Regions from separate parts of the Homo sapiens genome. Here all the other regions are linked to region 1. The links are contacts of gene promoters, found by promoter capture Hi-C in blood cells and fetal thymus (Javierre and others, 2016). All regions are on one chromosome and are shown on one strand. Each heading gives the region's core, a stretch centred on a gene start or on the middle of the fragment in contact. The rest is flanking DNA. Distances are from core to core; before and after follow the strand shown.

Region 1 (4,057 bases), core at 915-3,414:
AAATAGACCTGTTGATTGATTCAACGTGTGTGTTGAGCAATTTACGCCGCATATTAGGTTAATTTTCTAAGGGCTAGAACTGGCTGTCAGGCATTTTAACATCTCTTCCATAACAACACCTATGAAAACTCAGAACAGCAATGAAAGCAAGAATAAAAAATGGAAGAGTGTAACTCACGTGGAATAGTTATTAATATTGATGATAAAATATTTTTAAAGATAAAGTTATTCATTATTTTCTGAGAGGATTAAAAACTGCATTCCACCTACTGAATACTTTTGCCCCAAAGTTACATTCCCTGAAATACATGTTTTAATCAGTTTAAAACTATGTAATGGTGACTCAGTACTCTGCTTGTTAAACCAGGATGCTACTCCTAGGATAACTGAAGCACAGCATGGGGTAGAGAAGTCAGAATAATAAAATGTATCTTCCTGAAGCATCTGTTTTCCCTCGGCTTTTCATATTGAAACCCACAAAAATCTATCATAGAACAGAATGCAAAACTCTACTTAATTTCATAACATAAAACACGAAACATCGAAACATCGGAGAAACTCCTTGCTCTGTCCTCTTGTTGCAGGTATGGAAGCTCTGGGTTCTTTAGGAGAAAAGTTAGTGAGCACTGTGCATTAGAAATGAATTTTTCCATCTTTTCACATTGTTGTCAGTGAGAAGGGGTTTACTTTTATAATGCTTTTAATTTTTTGTTTACTTCCTGACTTGTCATTGCTTTCCGTTATCTATGGAAACTAGAAATAAATTCTCATACACCACAAAAATAACAGCAACACAACATATTTCTGACTAGGACACAGCGGCTGAGCTTTGAAAAGCATTCCTCACCGTCTGGTGCGCTCTACCAACAACATCAGAGGAAGACATTTCTGTTACTGCAATAACACAAGGTGCTAAGAGAAAATCTGTGAAAAGGAATTCACTCCAGTACAAAATCCCCGCTAAAGTTCGCCTTGCAGAAGACTGTAAACTAGCTTGACGGAGTTTGCTTAACCTCCATAGCATTGTCCAAAATTTTAGCCATTCAAAATCTAAGAAAAGTGAGTCGGCTGTAAAACCCTGTCATTCTCTAATTCATGTAACTGCGTTTATACTTTTCACAGTACTTATCACTGTCAGAAACGATCTTAGCCAATTGTTTCACGTGTTTCTTTTCTGTCTCTTCTATCTTCAATCTCTACAAACAGGGTCACTTGTATCTCCAGCATCTAGCCAAGCACTGGGGTATTATATAGCAGATGCTCAAAATGTCCTTGTTGAGTTTCTTCAGCAAGAGTCAGTGATGACCACTTTTGATCACACATACTTCTCAACTGATACTTAAGCCGAAGATAGGGGAAAGTGTGTCTGACCTATTCAGAGTGCAGGGACCCATTTGATGGAGTGAATGCTCCTCTGGATTCTCCGCATCTTTTGCCATCTTTGATGCTGAAACGCTAATGGGAGGGTAAATGGGGAAAAGTCTTTTTTGTTGGTGTTTTAGTAGAGACGGGGGAGCGGAAGATCTCGCTTTGTTACCCAGGTTTTTCTCGAACTTCTGGTCTCAAGAGATCGTCCCGCCTCAGCCTCCCAAAGTGCTGAGATTGCAGTCGTCAGCCACCGCCCCCAGCCTTGGTAGAAGGCCTTGATAGGACATTTCTCCTGTGTTTAAGGCAATGCCGAGGCTAACCGCCTTAGGGCCTCAACACCAACTCCCCGAGATCCCATCAGCGGACAGGGTGAATCCAGCGCCCGGCCTCGGGCCCCGCGCGTCTCGCAGCGAGCGCCGCGGAGCGCACCAGGGCCGCCGCACCCGCGGTCACAGCAGCGCCGCTCCAGATTTGGAAGGAAATCGCGCTTTGTCCCGGGTTCTGCTCGCATCCTCCGGGACAAGGCCCGGCTCCTGCCAGGCGGGGTGGCCACGGGACACACCCTTTGGACCTCCTGGGGAGTTAGCCCACCCGAGTCCCCAGCCCGGGCGCGGGCGGCGCCGGTACCCTGCTCACCGCTGGGGAACCTGCTGCTGTCGCCGGCCTTGTTGAGGGCGCTGCTGGAGCAGCCCATTGCGGGGAGCGCAGACACCTGTCTCAGCCCTGCGCGGGTGTCGGCCCGGAACCGGGAACCGAAGGCAACTGCACCCGTAGCCGCGGAAGTTTCTCCAGCTCTGCAGCCCGGCTCCCTTGGGCGTAGAGCGCAAGCGCGCAGCGGGGCTAATGGTAGGGGGTGCGCACCTGGAGGAGGAAGGGAGCTGGCAGGAGGTGGAAGGAGCCTGGGAGCGCAAAGCGGAAGAGAGCGGGAGGGCCAGGACGCAGAGGAGGGCAGGGAGGAGTAGAGCCCAGGAGACAGGAGGGGAGACGGTGGAGGGTATGGCACAGTAAGAGAGGAAAAGCCCCTAAAGCAGGGATAGGGAGGATGTCAGGGGGCGAGGGCGAAGCGCTGGGAGGTATCATCTGACTCATCACTAAATAGCCAGGGAGGCGAGGCGGCCTTGGGACTAGGGGCTATTGATTGGTAGACTAGATGTGCGATGACAGTCTTATTTTCTTACATAACTACAATTACCACAAGGAAGTTTAACTTTGATACAGTACGATTTAATCCACCCTCCATGTTCCCTTTTTGCCAATTGTCCAATCCAGGACTGCACGTTGCATTTAGTTGTGTCTCTCTTTAGTTTGCTTTAATCTGAAGTAGTTCCTCCAGTCTTGCTTTGTCGTTATGACTTTGACATTTATTAAGAGAATAGATTTTTTTTTTTTTTTGAAACCGAGTCTCTCTCTGTTGCCCAGGCTGGAGTGTAGTGGCGCAATCTCGGCTCACTGCAACCTCTGCCTCCCGGGTTCAAGCGATTCTCCAGCCTCAGCCTCCAGAGCAGCTGGGATTACAGGCGCCTGCCACCGTGCCCAGCTAATTTTTGTAATTTTAGTAGAGACGGGGTTTCACCATATTGGTCAGGCTGGTTTCGAACTCCTGACCTCAGGTGATCCACCCGCTTCGGCCTCTCAAAGTGCTGGGATTACAGGCATGAGCCACTGCGCTCGGCCTTTTTTTTTTTTTTTTTTTTTCCGGAGATGGAGTCTCACTGTGTCACCAAGACTGGAGTGTAGTGGCGAGATCTCAGCTCACTGCAACCTCCACCTCCCTGGTTCAAGAAACTCTCCCTGCTTCAGCCTCCTGAGTAGCTGGAATTACAGGCATGCGCCACCACGTCTGGCTATTTTTTGTATTTTTTAGTAGAGACGGCGTTTCACCATGTTGGCCAGGCTGGTCTTGAACTCCTGATCGCAGGTGATCCGCCCGCGTGGGACTCCCAAAGTGCTGGGATTACACATGTCAGCCACCGCACCCGGTGAGAACAGGCTTTTTTTTTTTTTAATTTGAGACACGGTTTCATTCTTGTTGCCCAGGCTGGAGTGCAATGGCACAATCTCAGCTCACCACAACTTTCGCCTCCTGGGTTCAAGCAATTCTCCTGCCTAAGCCTCCTGAGTAGCTGGGATTACATGCATGCGCCACCACACCCTGCTAATCTTGTATTTTTAGTAGAGATGGGGTTTCTTCATGTTGGTAAGGCTGGTCTCGAACTCCCGACCTCAGGTGATCCGCCTGCGTCAGCCTCCCAAAGTGCTGGGATTACAGGCATGAGCCATCGCGCCTGGCCAGGCCTTTTTTTAGAGAGAAAGAGGCTGGGCGCGGTGGCTCATGCCTGTAATTCCAGCACTTTGAGAGGCTGAGGCAGGAGAATCTCTTGAACCCGGGAGGTGCAGTTTTCAGTGAGCCAAGCCTGCCCTCCAGCCTGGGTGACAGAGCAAGATTCCATCCAAAAAAAATTTTTTTATAGAGACAGGAGTCTTGCCATGTTGCCCAGGCTGGTCTTGAACTCCTTACCTCAGGGGATCCTCTTCCCTTTGCCTCCCCAAAGTGCTGGGATTACAGGCATGAGACAGTGTGCCTGTGATTTTCTAATTACATTATTCCTTCTATATTGATTAGCTGCCATTCTACTACAAAGTAAGGAAGTGCTTTTCCTTCCCCCCATTTATTCACTTACATCAGTGA
Region 2 (4,057 bases), core at 787-3,286, 480 kb after region 1:
CTCTGTCATCCAGGCTGGAGTGCAGTGGCACGATCTCGGCTCACTGCAGCCTTGACTTCCCTGGGCTCAAGTGATCCTCCTACCTCAGGCTACTGAGTATCTGGGATTACAGGTACCCACCACGATGCCTGGCTAATTTTTGTATTTTTTGTAGAGATGAGGTTTTGCCATGTTGCCCAGGCTGGTCTTGAACTCCTGAGCTTACAGGTGTGTGTGAGCCACCACACCTGGCCACCCAAGCCCCTTAAAACTTGATTTTATAATTAATGTGTGCTACTTTTGTACCCTGGTCATTTTACCTATTATATTTAAAATAAGCCATGCAATTAGCTGAGTGGAAATGAACACATATTGTTCTTTTAAAAAATAAAAATAACTAGGTGTGGTGGCATGTGCCTGTAGTCCCAGCTATTCAGGAGGCTGAAATGGGAGGATCTCTTGAGCCTGAAGGGTCCTGGCTGCAGTGAGCCGAGATCACACCACTGTACCCCAGCCTGGGTGACAGAGTGAGACCCTGTCTCAGAAGAAGAGAGAAATATTTAATAAATATCCACACTGAATATTAAATACCATCTTATGTAGATGATCATATAATTTTCTCCTTTATTTTATTCATATGGTAAAATCACATTGATTGATTTTTAAGTATAAATTAGCCTTTTGCTCCACTTTTGTTTTTTTAAAAATATATTTTTAAATTAAATTTTATTTTATTTTAGTTTTTGAGACAGGGTATCGCTTTGTTGCCCAGGCTGGAGTGCAGTGGTGCGATCTCGGCTCACTGCAGCCTCTGCCTCCCAGGCTCAAACCATCCTCCCACCTTAGTGTCCTGAGTAGCTGGGACTACAGGCACGTACCACCATGCCTGGCTGATTTTTGTATTATTTGTAGAGACAGAGTATCGCTATTTTGCCCAGGCTAGTCTTGAAGTCCTGGGCTCAAGTGATCCACCCACCTCAGCCTCCCAAATTATTGGGATTACAGGCGTCAGCCACCTTGCCTGGCCAGTCTTGTGTTCTTGGAATAAGCCCAGTCTCGATGGGATATATAGCATATAGCCATATTTGATTGGCTCATATTTTGTTTCAGATTTTTGCATCTATGTTCATAAGAGAGAATGGCCTACAATTTTTCTTTTTTGCAGTATCATTATCTAGTTTTGCTATCATGGTCAAGAAGACCCAATAAAATGCAATTGGATCATAAATGCCGCAGATCCCCTTGCCCTTTGGGTGGGATAACTCTGAGGAAAAAGGTCTCCTTGATTTCCCCAGTGGACTCAAGCTCCAGTTACTCACAGTGGCAGTTTGTTTAAGAACCAGCTTTTTTTGGCTGTCTTATCTTTCTTGTTTCTCTTCCTCACTTCCCTAATAATGCTTCCTGACATCACCTCCTTATGTTCAAATCCTTCCCTGGGGATCTGCTTCAGGGGGAACTCAAAGTCAGGATCTTGAGCTCTTAATTCCTGGCTATTTTTGTAGTTTTCTGATGCTTTTAAACAAATGACTTTTGTATTTTATCCAACTTTTCTAGTTGTTCCTGGTAGAAGAGTTGGTTGGGTGTAATCTAGTCTATCATGGCTGAAAGCAGAAATTTAAACGTATATCTAGCATAAAAAAAAGAAACACCATAGTATAATTTGGTAACTTTCCTAATAGTTGGATTCAGTCTTTAATATTTTATCAGTTCTGATGTAAAGTAACCCTGATAAAATAGCTAGTCCTACTCTTTATTTATTTATTTATTTTTTGATACAGGGTCTCGCTCTGTCACCCAGGCTGGAGTGCAATGGTACAATCTCGGCTCACTGCAACCTCTGCCTCCAGGGTTCAAGCCATCCTCCCATCTCAGCCTCCTGAGTAGCTGGGACTACAGGTGCATACCACCGTGCCTGGCTAATTTTTGTATTTTTTGTAGAGACGGAGTATTGCTATGTTGCCCAGACCGGTGTTGAACTCTTGAGCTCAGGTGGTCTGTCTGTGTTGACTTCCCAAAGCTCTGGGATTACAGGCATGAGCCACCACACGCAGCCTACCAGTCCTAATCTTTATAATTCACTTCAAAGTCTTATCTTGGAGTCAGGACTCTCCTGAAGAAGGAACACACTTTGGGACTTCAGGCCAGTTTTGGGCACCTCCACTTCTCCCAGCTGCCTGGATGCCTCATTTGCATGTGGCATTAGCCAAGCTAATAAAAGGTAAACCTAAGTGTATCCTCCTAGCCTCCTTACTGTCTTGGGAGGCTGCCACCTTCCCTGATTCCCCTGTATTCTCTTCAAAGCAGAAAGAGAGACTGCAGATGATCAACCCCACATTCACTCTGATGACAACAAAACCTCCTTTCTCCTGAACAAAAAGAATCCAATTTCTACATAACCTAAAAAGGGAAACATTTCTGTTCTCAGCCACTATTGCATCTTGAGTTTCTTATATATTGCTTCCATGTTCCTAAATTTAAATGATAGCATTTCGTTTGTTTGAGTTGTCCCTAAATAATACACAACTTTTATAAACAGCTTTACTTAAAAGGGACATACCACTTTTTACAGAATATTTTTCAAAAACAGCTTTGAAATCATAGTTAGCATTTAAAGAAGAATGTTGTCCTATTCTTTTTTCTTATCTGTTTTCCCTTCTGTTTCCTTCCAGAACAATCCATTTCAAAAGCCATTATTAGATGGGGTTGGGCAGGTCAGTGACAAAAGGTAGGGTATCAGTGTCTGAACAAGTTCAGGTGCGGAGGCATGCAGGGAGGAAGACCAGGGCGGGGTGTTGGAGCCATGCAGAGTGAGAAAGGCATGCACACGAGGGGCTGATGGGGGCCTGGCACGGGTGTCAGATACCAAGCAAGGTGGGATGCACATTCCTATGGTAGCCCAGCATGTGGCATCAGAGGCCAGGTGGGGTGAGGAGGGCTTTAGATGAGGGGAATCAGCAGCCTGGTGCTGGGTGTGGGAGTCCGAATAGGGTGAGAGGGGCCTGCCTAGGGGAGGGCAACCTGGCAGGGGGGTGTCAGGGCCTACAAGGTGGGATATTACATATAGTAGTGCTCCAATATGTCAAGATATGGAGGAGAGTAGGAGCAAAGTTTCTCACTGTCACAGAAGGAAGTGAAAATATGGAAAGGGAGAAAACTGATGAGCTCTCTACTGTTAGAGTTTGGAATTGGAGATATTACCGTGAGTTCATAGTTTTCAGTATACACAGATGGGTAGATATGGGAATCAATATAGATATGTGTGTGTGTGTGTGTGTACGTGTGTGTGTGTATGCGTGTGCATATGTATGCTCCCTAGCTTTGCTCCTTTTGAGGGCCTGAGTGTAGTACACATCAAGAGCAATGAGCAAATCTAGCACTGAGGTCTTGATTTTTAAGTACCATTCTCCACTAAAAGGATCCAGGACCCCTTGGAGAAGTGGCTGATACAGGGTTTGAGTAGGGAAGCACAGGATGAGCCTGAAATATCTTGTTGTGCCAAAGGATGCAGAAGCCAGCTTGATAGGAATGGATTAAAATCCACTGAATAAAATAGAACCATGATTCAATATGACGTAAATAAGTAAATGACTAACTTGAAAGATTGGTGAGGAACAGGATGTCTATATGTTCTCAAAGTACCTCCCTACAAAATATGTATTAATTACAGAGGGGAGAAGTGTAAATTTACACTGGAGAAGTCTGGTAGATACCACCTTAATCAAGTGATAGAAGTTAACATCACCAATAATAGATTCTGATGGAATGCATCGAGAAGAACTCAGCATCACTTCCATGATATTCCTGATAAAGATGACACAGAACCTGGATTTAATCACAGGGAAACATCAGACACACATGTTCTCTGTCTCTTTCTCTCTCTCTCTTTCACTCAGACACACATTGGGAAATGTGTTGTCATTGACTTCTTGTGATGTGCTACAACTTTCCAATTCTAGAATCCAATCTTAGAGGAGGTTTGAAAAGATGAGGCTCCAAATATCTGTTATAATTATCTATGAAGATTACTTAAAGAACGTGATTTAAAAAAATTGCTGAGTGTAAAATGCATTCATGAAAG
Region 3 (4,057 bases), core at 553-3,052, 460 kb after region 1:
CTTGCCAGTGGGGCTCTCTTTAGGTTGGCACCTGAGCCCTTTTGACATGATCCTGTGGTCTGTGGTAGCCCCTTCGTTGTCTGATATGACAAGATGTTCTAAGGTCATGTATTTGTCTGGCCCCTAGAATTAGTTCTTTCTAAAGAGTCTTGTTTCTTTTAGTGGGAATAGTATTTAAGGTCACAATTGGGGCACTAGAGTGCTCATTGCTACCTTTTTTGTTGTTATTTCTAGGACTTCTTATCAAACGGAACTAGGAAATATTTTTGGTTTTGTTTTGAAGATAAAATACTGCATTTGTTCATATTGGTACTCCATACTGAAATTCATGACTACAGGATTTTCAGTTAACCTCTTCTATCATTTATTTCCTTCCTCCCATGCCAAGAATCTGGTCTCAGTGACTCTGGGTATGAGAGAATGAACATCATATAATTACTCATTTGCTTTGTCCCAAGTTATACATCAATCTCCGATACCAACATCACAAACTCTGAAATAATTTTACGATTTTTAAAATTATTTTTTCACAGTTCTTTTTATCCTTACAGTATATCCCATTGGGAATGCCCGTAAATTACTGTGTTTTAAATCACTTAAAGTGGTTCCTCTTTGGTGTTATGCCACCAACTGGATATACATGTTCATTTGTTTCCTTTTATTTTTTGATTTTGAGGATTGCTTTTTCATAATTTAATGATAAATTATTTAAATAATTACATGATCCCAAAGTTATATCTACCCAATGAGGCACATTTTAAGAAGTGTAGCCAGGCATGGTGGCACACACCTGTCATCCCAGCACTTTGGGAGCCCGAGGTGGGTGGATTGCTTAAGCCCAGGAGTTTGAGACCAGCCTGGCATTATGGCAAAACCCCATCCCTATAAAGAATACAAAAATTAGCCAGGCATCGTGGCATGAGCCTGTGGTCCCAGCTACTTGAGAGGCTGAGGTGGGAGGATCACTTGAGCCCAGGGAGGTACAGGCTGCAATGAGCCAATATTGCACCACTGCACTCCAGCCTGGGCTATAGAGTAAGACTGTCTCACACACACACACACACACACACACACACACACACAAAGTCTACCTTCCTTCCTTCCTTTCTCTCTCTTTCTTTCTTCCTTTCTTTCTTTCTCTCTTTCTCTCTTTCTCTTTTGTCTTTCTTTCTGACAGAGTCTTGCTCTGTCACCCAGGCTGGAGTGCAGTGCTGCAATCTTGGCTCACTGCAACCTCCACCTCCTGGGTTCAAGTGATTCTTCTGCCTCAGCCTCCTGAGTAGCTGGGATTATAGGCACCCACCACCACACCTAGCTAATTCTGGTATTTTTAGCAGAGGCCCGTTTCACCATGTTGCTCAGGCTGGTCTCGAACTCCTGACCTCAGGTGATCCTCCCACCTCGGCCTCCCAAAGTGCTGGGATTACAGGCATGAGCCACCATGCCCAGCCTTCTGTCTCTTTTTTCTCTACCGTATTTCCTCCCTCCCCGAGAGGTGAGCGTTATGATTTTTTGTTTTATAATTATCCTTTAGTTTTGTTTTAAAAATATAGAAATATAATCATACAAATGTGTGAAATATAAACAAATTTGTAGACTCAGTTCTTTTTTTTTTTTTTTTTTTTTTTGAGACGGAGTTTCTCTCTTGTCGCCCAGGCTGGAGTGCAATAGCATGAGCTCGGCTCACTGCAACCTCCACCTCCCTGTTCACGTGATTCTCCTGCCTCAGCCTCCTGAGTGACTGGGATTACAGGCACCCGCCACAATGCCCAGCTAATTTTTGTGTTTTTAGTAGAGACGGGGTTTCATATTGGCCAGGCTGGTTTTGAACTCCTGACCTCAGGTCATCCGCCTGCCTTGGCCTCCCAAAGTGCTTGGATTATAGGTGTGAGCCACTGCACCCGGCCTAGACTCAGTTCTTATATGTAGCTGGAGCATGCTATACACACTGTCCTAGATCTGGCTTTCTTCACTTAACAACGTATCCTCTCCCCCGCTTTTTTTCCTTTCTCCCCCGACCTCCTCTCCCTTTGACAGCTGTGGAGTCCTCCACTGTTTGGATGCCCCATGTTTTACTCACCTAGTCCCGTATTCAAGGACATTTAGATTATTCCCAGTTGTTTGTTGTTGTTGCAAATAGTGCTACAATGAGTAGCTTTGTGCATATATCTAATTTTAGTTTTGCCAGTGTATGGTTTTGATCAATTTCTAGAAACAGGGCTGTTAGACACAGAAAATTTGAAAGCAGGACAAAAAGTTTAATTTCATTATTTCTGTAATTATTTCACTTCTCCCCAGAACCCTTCTCTACACCAACAGGAACAATCTTTAGACTACAAGCTCCTCACTCTCATGCTTGCTCTTTTCATTGTACAGAGCATGTAAAGTCTCACTCATTCTCTTCCCTCCAACCCTGCTGAGCACCATGCAACAAAGACCTGCCAGATACCAGAACCCTACTGTTGGAAGCCAGTTGGAATAACTCTCTCTCTCAAAGACATTTATTTTTCTTCCCCAAAGGTACCTATCTCAAAGACATTTTTGATCTTTAAGATGTGTACTTACAAAACTCCACTTGTAATGCCCATGTACATACCTTAGAGATAAATACTTCTACACTTTATTTATTTATTTTTTGAGACAGAGTCGTGCTCTGTTGTCCAGCCTGGAGTGCAGTGGCACGATCTCAGCTCACTACAACTTCCGCCTCCTGGGTTCCAGCTATTCTCCTGCCTCAGCCTCCTGAGTAGTTGGGATTACAGGCACATAACACCACACCAGGCTATTTTTTTTTTGTGTGTGTGTGTGTGTATATATATATATATACATTTTTTTTTTTTTTTTTTTTTTTTTTTGTAGGGACAGGGTTTCACCATGTTGGCCAGGCTGGTCTCGAACTCCTGACCTCAGGTGATCTGCCTGCCTTGGCCTCCCAAAGTGTTGGGATTACAGGCATGATCCACCGTGCCTGGCCCCTCTACACTTTAAATCCTGTGAGTCCCAACCAATAAAGCCTGTAGTCCTTGCTTATATGGAGGAAATAGTGAAGAATAAGTTCTCATTGATTGGAAAATAGCCTTTAAACAAACTCCATAGAAATAAATCCAGTGATGACTGATCACTCCCATTGCTGGTTTTCAGTTCTTTTATCCATCTGTGTCCCTCCTGCAAAGCTGATCTGGTTGCTGCCATGGCCAGGAATTACTTGCTCATCTCGGTTTCAGTGCCATCAACATGCACTGGCCACATGTGGAATGTCTTCTGTTTCCAGCCACTGCTTTCCTCAGCAGTTGGCTGAAAGCTCACATTCTCCAGGAAGCTCATTTGATGAACTCCACTCTGTCAAGATCCTTTTTGTAATGCACATGCCTCAAGTTTAGAGCTGCAGAATTTAGCAAAGAATAATACAAGATGCCCAGTTAAACTTGAATTTCAGATACATGATGAATACTTTTTTTCTTTTTTAGCATGAGACATGCTATACATAACCTAAAAATTATTTGTTGTTTATGAAATTCAAGTTTAACTGGTGGTCCTGTATTTCACCTGACAACCAAGTCGTAAAGGTCATGAAAAACAAACAATCCCCATTGTTATACTTGTTTATTATGTTGCTTTCAACATTTTCTTTTCTTTTCTTTTTTTTTTTTTGGTGGAGAAGGGGTTTCACCATGTTGGTCAGGCTGGTCTCCAACTCCTGAGCTCAAGCGATCTGCCTGCCTTGGCGTCCCGAAGTGCTGGGGTTACAGGCAAGAGCCACCATGTCTGGCCTCAAAATTTTCTTTAAAATCTTTTTTCTTTTTTATTTATCTTATTTTGCTTTTCTCCCCCTGTCTTATGGTGGTGATCAAAATTTCCTATGAGTGATTTTATGTATATACTTTGTTCTCTAAGTAGATCATAAACTTGAAAGTGGAAACTGTCTTCTGCTTTCTGTAACCCCTCCCCCACCACACTCCCAACACTATGCTAGTTATCAATTCCAAGTTAATGTTTGATGAATGAATAAATCCTCAAAATAAGCTTTGTTTTCCATTAAAGAGAAAACAACCTCCAT
Region 4 (4,057 bases), core at 1,019-3,518, 410 kb after region 1:
ATGGTAGAGTAATTTACCACTTACAGAAATAGGGAAGACTGGGAGAAGGCAAGAAATAATAGGTTCTGTTTTGGAGATGTTAAAAGTTTGAGATAATTTTTAAAAAGTTTGAGATACGTATCAGACTCCCAATCAGAGAAATCAAGCATACATGTAGACATGAGGTTCTGGAGATGACAGAACAGTCTAGATACAGATAGGGACTAATATACAGTTGTTCCCCATTATTAATGGATTCTGTATTGGTGAATTTATCTTTTCACTAAAATTTATTTGTTACTCCAAAATCAATACTTGAGGTACTTTCACGGTCATTTCTGGACACGCACATGCACAGAGCTGCAAAGTCACTCTGCAGGCACATTCCCAGCTGAGGTCAAGCCTCCACCTTCTTATTTCAGCTCTCATCACTGTAAATAAGTATCCTTTCTGAGGACTATTTAGTGTCACATATTTTGCATTTTTTGGGTGCTTTTTGTTAGTGATTTTGCTGTTTATAATGGTCCCCAACTGTAGTGCTGAAGTGCTGCTGAGCATTCCTAAGCATAAGAAGGCTGTGATATACCTTACAAAGAAAATAATGCATTAGATAAGCTTTGTTCAGGCATGAGTTCTAGTGCTATTGGCCGTGAGTTCAATGATATGAATCAATTAAATTAAATGTCTTTAAACAGAAACACTCATAAAACAAGACCATGTATTGTATATGGTATTGGTGAAAATATTGTGACCAGAGGCTTGGACCTAATTTTGCACTTTCCCTAGGAGCACTAGTTTAGTACTTGCTAATTCAGTGGGAACTTTATAGAACTTCTGCAGATAAAGAAAATCAACTATGCTGATCTGTTCCAGTACTATTTATAACATACCTTTTATGTGTGTGACCACTAGTAATGCGTTTTGTGCTCCTAATATGGATAATGGGCAGACACTCAGATACTTGCTGAATGACTATTAGAACCAAATGAAATGGTGATATTAGACCATTCTAATCTAAACAATATGGCATAGCCAGGTGTGGTGGTGTGTGCCTGTGGTCCCAGGTAGTCGGGAGGCTGAGGTGGGAGGATCGCTTGAGCCTGAGAGGCGGAGGTTGCAGAGAGCCAAGATCACACCACTGCACTCCAGCGTGGGTGACAGTGAGACCCCAGCTCAAAAAATAAATAAATAAATAAATTTTTAAAAGGCAATTCCATAGTTTCCACTAAACACGAAACATTATGCTAGGTGTTACAATATATAACTCTAGCTGAGGAGCTAGGGAAGGCTTTACAGTTGAAGCAGCACTGCAGCTGGGCCTTGAAGGACAGGTGGAAATTGGTAGAGAGAGGCTGGGCACAGTGACTAACGCTTGTAATTCCAGCACTTTGGGAGGCCTAGGCAGGTGGAGTACTTGAGCTTAGCAGTTCAAGACCAGTCTAGGCAACATAGCAAAACGCCATCTCTACAAAAAATTCAAAAATTAGCTGGGCATGGTGGTGTGCGTCTGTAGTCCCAGCTACTCAGGAGGCTGAGGTGGGAGAGTCGCTTGAGCCTGGGAGGTTGAGGTTGCAGTGAGCCAAGATTACGCCACTGCACTCCAGCCTGGTTGACACAGCCAGACCCTGTTTCGAAAAGAAATTTAAAAATAAAAATAAGAAAAGAAACTGGCCGGGCCTGGTGGCTCATGCCTGTAATCCCAGCACTTTGGGAGGCTGAGGCAGGCGGATCACGAGGTCAGGAAATCGAGACCATCCTGGCTAACACGGTGAAACCCCATCTCCACTAAAAATACAAAAAATTAGCTGGGCATGGTGGTGGGCGCCTGTAGTCCCAGCTACTCAGGAGGCTGAGGCAGGAGAACGTGCGTGAACCCGGGAGGTGGAGTTTGCAGTGAGCTGAGATCGCACCACTGCACTCCAGCCTGGGCGACAGAGTGACACTCCGTTTCAAAAAGAAAAGAAAAGAAAAGAAATTGGTAGAGAGATAGAAAGAAGGGTCTTTTAATAGATAAAAATAATGGCCGGGGGCAGTGGCTCATGCCTGTAATCCCAGCACTTTGGGAGGCTGAGGCAGGTGGACTGCCTGAGCTCAGGAGTTTGAGTCCATGCGTGGGCAACATGGTGAAACTCCATCTCTACAAAAAGTACAAAAATAACCAGGTGTGGTATCGTGCACCTGTAATCCCAGCCACTCGAGGGGCTGAGGTGGGAGGAATGCTTGAGTCTGGGAAGTGGAAGCTGCAGTGAGCTGTGTTCACACCACTGCACTCCAGCCTGGGACAAAGTGAGACTCTGGTCTCCAAAAACAACAACAACAAAAATGAAAATAATCATAAATAAAGAGACACAGAAATCTAGCTAAGCAGAATTATTTCTTGTCTTAGGAGTAATGGTGAGAGACAAGCCTAAGGTAGGGTTAGATCATGAAGAGACTCGAGTGCCATGTCATGAATTTTGCATTTTATTCAACAGGTGATGGGGAAACTACTGAAAGGATGTGAACATCAAAGTCACATGATCAGGGTTGGGCTTCAAAAGACTCTACTCACACGAGTGGGTAGAAAAGATTGGCAAAAAAGAAACTGGAAGCAGGAAAACTAGTTAGGATGATGTTAGAACAGTCTAAACAAAAGGTAATAAAGTCCTAAAGTAGGGCAGTGGCAGTGAAACTGGAACAGAAGTAATGACTACAAAAGACACTGCATACTATTAGAATACAGTCATACACTGCTTAATGAGAATACATTCTGAGAAATGCATCTTTGTGCAAACATCACATAGTATACTGACACAAACCTAGGCTACAAACCTGTACAGCATGTTGCTGTACTGAATACTGTGGCAACTGTAACACAATGGTAAGTGTTTGTGTATCTAAACATAGAAAAGGTATAGTAAAAATACAATATCATAATCTTATGGGGTCATTATATAGGCAGTGCTTCACCTCACAAAATTACAGCCAGATGAGGCAAACAGCCACTTTCCACTTAAAGAGAAAAAGGGGGCTCACATAGGTATTTACCAAGCATGAATAATAGGAGTAAGCTGTATAAATACTTTTGTTGGACATCTTACTATATTATGCATTCAATAATTATTTTTGAGTACCAAGCACTGTGCAAGGCTATCTGGTAGCAAACAAAAGGAAACACTATTATTTTATTCATTGAGCTTAGAGATATGGCAATTACACTATAGCAAATCTTTATAAACATTCCTACACTAATATGCAAATAACTTGTCCACTAAAATAAATTTTTGAGCTGGGTGAGGTTGCTCATGCCTGTAATCCCAACATTTTGGGAGGCCAAAGTGGGAGGATGGCTTGAGGCCAGGAGTTTGAGGATGCAGTGAGCTATGAGCTATAACCGCCACTGCACTCCAGCATGGGCAATAGAGCAAGACTGTTTCAAAAAAAAAAAAAAGACAATTTTCTTTGATATTAATCCTGATTATGTGCTTCCAGTTGAAATTCAAAGCCAATTGTTACAGACCAGTTTTCGCAGACTTCACTTCAATCTAAGTCATTACTCAGATTAAAAATCAAGTGAAAAAATACTTGAGTGCCCATTTAATACAGACTTTGAGGTAGATGTCATGAAAAATACATACAAGATAATAATTTCCAAAAATGCCAGGAACAGGGGTGGGGGGGAAAAGAAAAAATGCCAAGAACTGAGCCCAGTAAAAAGTGGCCCCCCTCACTTTTAATTAGGGAACAAACTGTAATTCATACCCTAAAAGATCTATGGCATGGTTTTATTAGGGGATAAAAAACAAATTGATAAAATAATTTCAGAAATTGCTTATAAACAGGTTGAGGTAAATACAGATTTCGCCACTATTTACTCTACAAATGAAAAATTTGAAAACAGGAGTCGCAAAATTTGGAGTGATTTAAGAGAAAGCTAAAAATAATGGAACGAAAAGATCAGAGATCAGGAATCTACAAGCTTTTTTTTTTTTTTTCTTTTAGGAGACAGAGTCTTGCTGTGTTGCCCAGGCTGGAGTGCAGTCACCTGATCATAGCTCATCACAGCGTCAAACTCCTAGGCTCAAGTGATCCTCCCAAC
Region 5 (4,057 bases), core at 819-3,318, 330 kb after region 1:
TATGGTAGGTACGGCATCTCCCTATGTTGGCCAGGCTGGTCTTGAACTCCTGGGCTCCAGTGATCCACCTGCCTCTGCCTCCCAAAGTGTTTGGATTTCAGGTGTGAGCCACTGCGCTGACCTGTTACTTTTAATTTTTTTTTTTTTTCTGAGACAGAGTCTCACTCTTGTTGACCAGGCTGGAGTGCAATGGCACGATCTCCGCTCACTGCAACCTCTACCTCCCAGATTTAAGTGATGCCCCTGCCTCAGCCTCGAAAGTAGCTGGGAGTACAGGCATGCACCACCACACCCGGCTAATTGTATTTTAGTAGAGATGGAGTTTCTCCATGTTGGCCAGGCTGGTCTTGAACTCCTGGCCTCAGGTGATCCACTCGCCTAGGCCTCCCAAAGCACTGGGATAATAGGTGTGAGCCACTGTGTCCAGCCTTACTTTTAATTTTTAAAATGGTAGCTGATTAGGCCAGGCACGTTGGCTCACGCCTGTAATCCCAGCATTTTGGGAGGCTGAGGCACGCGGATCACCTGAGGCCAGGAGTTCAAGACCAGCCTGGCCAACATGGTGAAACCCCATCTCTACTAAAAATACAAAAATTAGCCAGGTGTGGTGGCGGGTGCCTGTAATCCCAGTTACTCGGGAGGCTGAGGCAGGAGAATCGTTTGAACCCTGGAGGTGGAGGTTGCAGTGAGCTGAGATCTTGCAATTGTACTCCAGCCTGGGCGACAGGCGAGACTCCATCTTAACAAAAAAAAAAAAAAAAAAAAAAAAAAAAAAAAGGGTAGCTGATTGCACTCCCAAAGGATTGTAGTAATTTATCCTGCCACTTGCAGTGAATGAATACACTTTCTCTGTATGCCTATTAGCAGCTGGAGTTACAGCTTTTTTTTTTAGAAACTCTGGCCAGTCTGATGGGCATGAAGTGGTAGCTGGCTCATTCTAACTTTAATTTGTATTTTCTTGGTACTAGTAAGTTTAAACATTTAAAAATATGTTTGATGAACATTTTGTATTGTTTATTCTTGGACTGCTTATTCTCATCTGCTTATTTTTCTCTTGTGTTGTTTCCCCTTTGTCAGTTATCTTTATGTATTCTAGAAAGTATTAGCTTGTAATCTATCAAAGGTGTTGCACATTCTATTTTATTTATTTTATTTTATGTTATTTACTTACTTATTTTTTGAGACAGAGTCTTAGTCTGTCACCCAGGCTGGAGAGCAATGGAGTGCCTGGCCTCTAATGTTTTCAAAATAAAACATTTTAAAAGTTTATAAAAAATTGCTGGGCATGGCCGGGCGTGGTGGCTCACATCTTAATCCCAGCACTTTGGGAGGCTGAGGAGGGCAAATCATGAGGTCAGGTGTCCGAGACCAGTCTGACCAACATGGTGAAACCCCGTCTCTACTAAAAATACAAAAATTAGCTGGGTGTGGTAGTGCACGCCTGTAATTCCAGCTACTCAGGAGGCTGAGGCAGGAGAATTGCTTGAACCCGGGAGGCAGAGGTTGCAGTAAGCTGAGATCGTGCCACTGCACTCCAGCCTGGGAGATAGAGTGAGACTCTGTCTCCAAAAAAAAAAAAAAAAAAATTGCCAAGCATGGTGGCTCACGCCTATTATCCCAGCACTTTGGGAGGTCAAGGTGAGTGGATCACATGAGGCCAGCAGTTTGAGACCAGCCTGGCCAACATGGTGAAACCCCATCTCTACTAAAATACAAGAATTAGTCAGGTGTTGGTGGCTGGCACCTGTAATCTCAGCTACTCAGGAGGCTGAGGCAGGAGAATCCCTTGAACCCAGGAGGTGGAAGTTGCAGTGAGCCGAGGTTGCGCCACTGCACTGCAACCTGGGCGACAGAGCGAGACTTCTTCTCAAATAATAATAATAATAATTAAAAAATTGTATACAGTTAAATATGGCCATCTTTTCTTTTCCTTTTTTTTTTTTTTTTTTGAGACAGTCTTGCTCTGTCACCCAGGCTGGAATGCAGTGGCGTGATCTCGGCTCACCGCAACCTCCGCCTCCTGGGTTCAAGTGATTCTCGTGCCTCAGCCTCCTGAGTGGCTGGGACTGCAGGCACACCCCACCACGTCTGGCTAATGTTTTTATTTTTTGTAGAGACAGGGTTTTGCATGTTGCCCAGGCTGGTCTCAAACTGCCGACCTCGTGATCTGGCTGCCTTGGCCTCCCAAAGTGCTGTGATTACAGGCGTGAGCTACCGCACCTGGCCCATTTTTTCTTTTTCTTTTCTTTTCTTTTCTTTTTTTTTTTTTTTTTTTTTGAGGTAGAGTCTCACTCTGTTGCCCAGGCTGGAGTGTAATGGTGAGATTTAGGCTCACTGCAACCTCTGCCTCCCAGGTTCAAGCGATTCTCCTGCCTCAGCCTCCCGAGTAGCTGGGGTTACAGGCGCCTGCCACTATGCCCAGCTAATTTTTTGTATTTTTAGTAGAGGGGTAGTTTCATGTTGGCCAGGCTGGTCTCGAACTCCTGACCTCGTGATTTGCCTGCCTCGGCCTCCCAAAGTGCTGGGATTACAGGCGTAAGCCACCGCGCCCGGCCCCATCTTTTCTTTCCTTTTTTTTCTTTTTGAGACAGAGTCTCGCTCTGTCGCCCAGGCTGGAGTGCAGTGGCGTGATCTCGGCTCACTGCGACCTCCACCTCCTGGGTTCAAGTGATTCTCCCGCTTCAGCTCCTGAGTAGCTGGGATAACAGGCATATGCCAGACACCTGGCTAATTTTCATATTTTTAGTAGAGATGGGGTTTCGCCATGTCGGCCAGGCTGGTCTCGAAATCCTGACCTCAGGTGATCCACCTGCCTCGGCCTCCCAAAGTGCTGGGATTACAGGAGTGAGTCACCGCACCTGGTCTTAGGTGTTATTCTTGATGGTGAAAGGGCCTGGATCTCTGGTCCTGCTAGATTCCTTTTCAGCTTGAACTTGCCAGAGCAGATTCTGGGTTTTAGAACAAAGAATACTTACTGAGGCAAGCTGTTTTATATTTTATTCCACTATTTTATTCCTAAGTCTAGCCCTCTGCTCCTTCCCACCACTGCCCACTATTTTTTCCTTACTTGATCTTTCTCAGATTGTTTATTTATTTTTGAGACGAAGTCTCGCTCAGCCACCCAGGCTGGAGTGCAGTGGCACCATCTTGGCTCACTGCAACCACTGTCTCCCAGGTTCAAACGATTCTCCCGTCTCAGCCTCCCGAGTAGCTGGGATTACAGGCACCCACCACCATGCCCAGCTAATTTTTGTATTTTAGTAGAGATGGAGTTACACCATGTTGGCCAGGCTGGTCTTGAACTCCTGACCTCAGGTGATCCTCCTGCCTTGATCTCCCAAAGTGCTAGGATTGCAGGTGTGAGCCACCGCTCCTGGCCTAAATTATTTATTTTCATGATCTTTGAGGTGTTTTTAAAAAATTCAGGCTGCGCACAGTGGCTTATGCCTGTTAATCTCAGCAGTTTGAGGCTGAGGTGGGCGGATTGCTTGAGCCCAGAAGTTTGGGACCGGCCTGGGCAACAAAGCAAGACCCTGTCTCTATAAAAGATAGGATTATCCAGGTGTGATGGTGGGTGCTTGTAGTCCCAGCTACTCAGGAGGCTGAGGCAGGAGGATTGCTTGAGCCCAGGAGTTTGAGGCTGCAGTGAGCCGTGATTGTGCCACTGCACTCCAGCCTGGTAGACAGAGGAAGCTCCTGTCTGTTAAAAAAAAAAATGGGCCAGACCCAGTGGCTCATGCCTGTAATCTCAACGCTTTGGGAGGCAGAGGCACCCGGATTACTTGAGGTCAGGAGTTTGAGACCAGACTGGCCAACATGGCGAAACCCCGTCTCTACTAAAAATACAAAAAATTAGCCAAGCCTGGTGGCGTGCACCTGTAACCCCAGCTACTCGGGAGGCTGAGGCAGGAGAGTCACTTGAACCTGGGAGACAGAGGTTGCAGTGAACCGAGATCGTGTCACTGCACTCCAGCCTGAGCACCTGAGCAACAGAGCGACACTTCGTCTCAAAAAAAAAAAAAAAAAAAAAAAAATTCTGGTAATCTCACTATCCCGT

What was found. Contacts are between HindIII fragments. The CHiCAGO score rates a contact against its expected background, and 5 or more counts as called.
Region 2: a fragment that was not itself captured here is called in contact with the fragment with the promoter of ERICH5 in region 1 in 1 of 17 cell types (non-activated CD4 T cells); the score reaches 5.1 in non-activated CD4 T cells.
Region 3: a fragment that was not itself captured here is called in contact with the fragment with the promoter of ERICH5 in region 1 in 5 of 17 cell types (naive CD8 T cells, activated CD4 T cells, total CD4 T cells and 2 more); the score reaches 7.8 in naive CD8 T cells.
Region 4: a contact is called between a fragment that was not itself captured here and the fragment with the promoter of ERICH5 in region 1, in 3 of 17 cell types (total CD4 T cells, naive CD4 T cells and total CD8 T cells). The highest score is 6.6, in total CD4 T cells.
Region 5: a fragment that was not itself captured here is called in contact with the fragment with the promoter of ERICH5 in region 1 in 6 of 17 cell types (naive CD8 T cells, naive CD4 T cells, fetal thymus and 3 more); the score reaches 6.9 in naive CD8 T cells.

Annotation. Positions count from the first base shown.
Region 1 is chr8:98,062,675-98,066,731 of GRCh38, reverse strand. It overlaps ERICH5 (glutamate rich 5), which reads right to left and starts at 2,164. Exons shown (of 3, transcript NM_173549.3): 1 at 2,005-2,164. The coding sequence starts at 2,062. RefSeq lists an enhancer at 1,724-1,783 and a silencer at 2,024-2,123. The HindIII fragment of the contact is 8,700 bases long and covers 1-4,057 here.
Region 2 is chr8:97,577,972-97,582,028 of GRCh38, reverse strand. No RefSeq gene overlaps it. Among named protein-coding and RNA genes, the nearest start is that of MTDH, 64 kb to the left of the region's middle. The HindIII fragment of the contact is 4,555 bases long and covers 1-4,057 here.
Region 3 is chr8:97,599,532-97,603,588 of GRCh38, reverse strand. No RefSeq gene overlaps it. Among named protein-coding and RNA genes, the nearest start is that of MTDH, 43 kb to the left of the region's middle. The HindIII fragment of the contact is 4,447 bases long and covers 1-4,025 here.
Region 4 is chr8:97,647,847-97,651,903 of GRCh38, reverse strand. The region is part of intron 1 of MTDH (metadherin); the gene reads right to left. Among named protein-coding and RNA genes, the nearest start is that of MTDH, 5.7 kb to the right of the region's middle. The HindIII fragment of the contact is 3,343 bases long and covers 597-3,939 here.
Region 5 is chr8:97,730,788-97,734,844 of GRCh38, reverse strand. No RefSeq gene overlaps it. Among named protein-coding and RNA genes, the nearest start is that of LAPTM4B, 43 kb to the left of the region's middle. The HindIII fragment of the contact is 5,398 bases long and covers 1-4,057 here.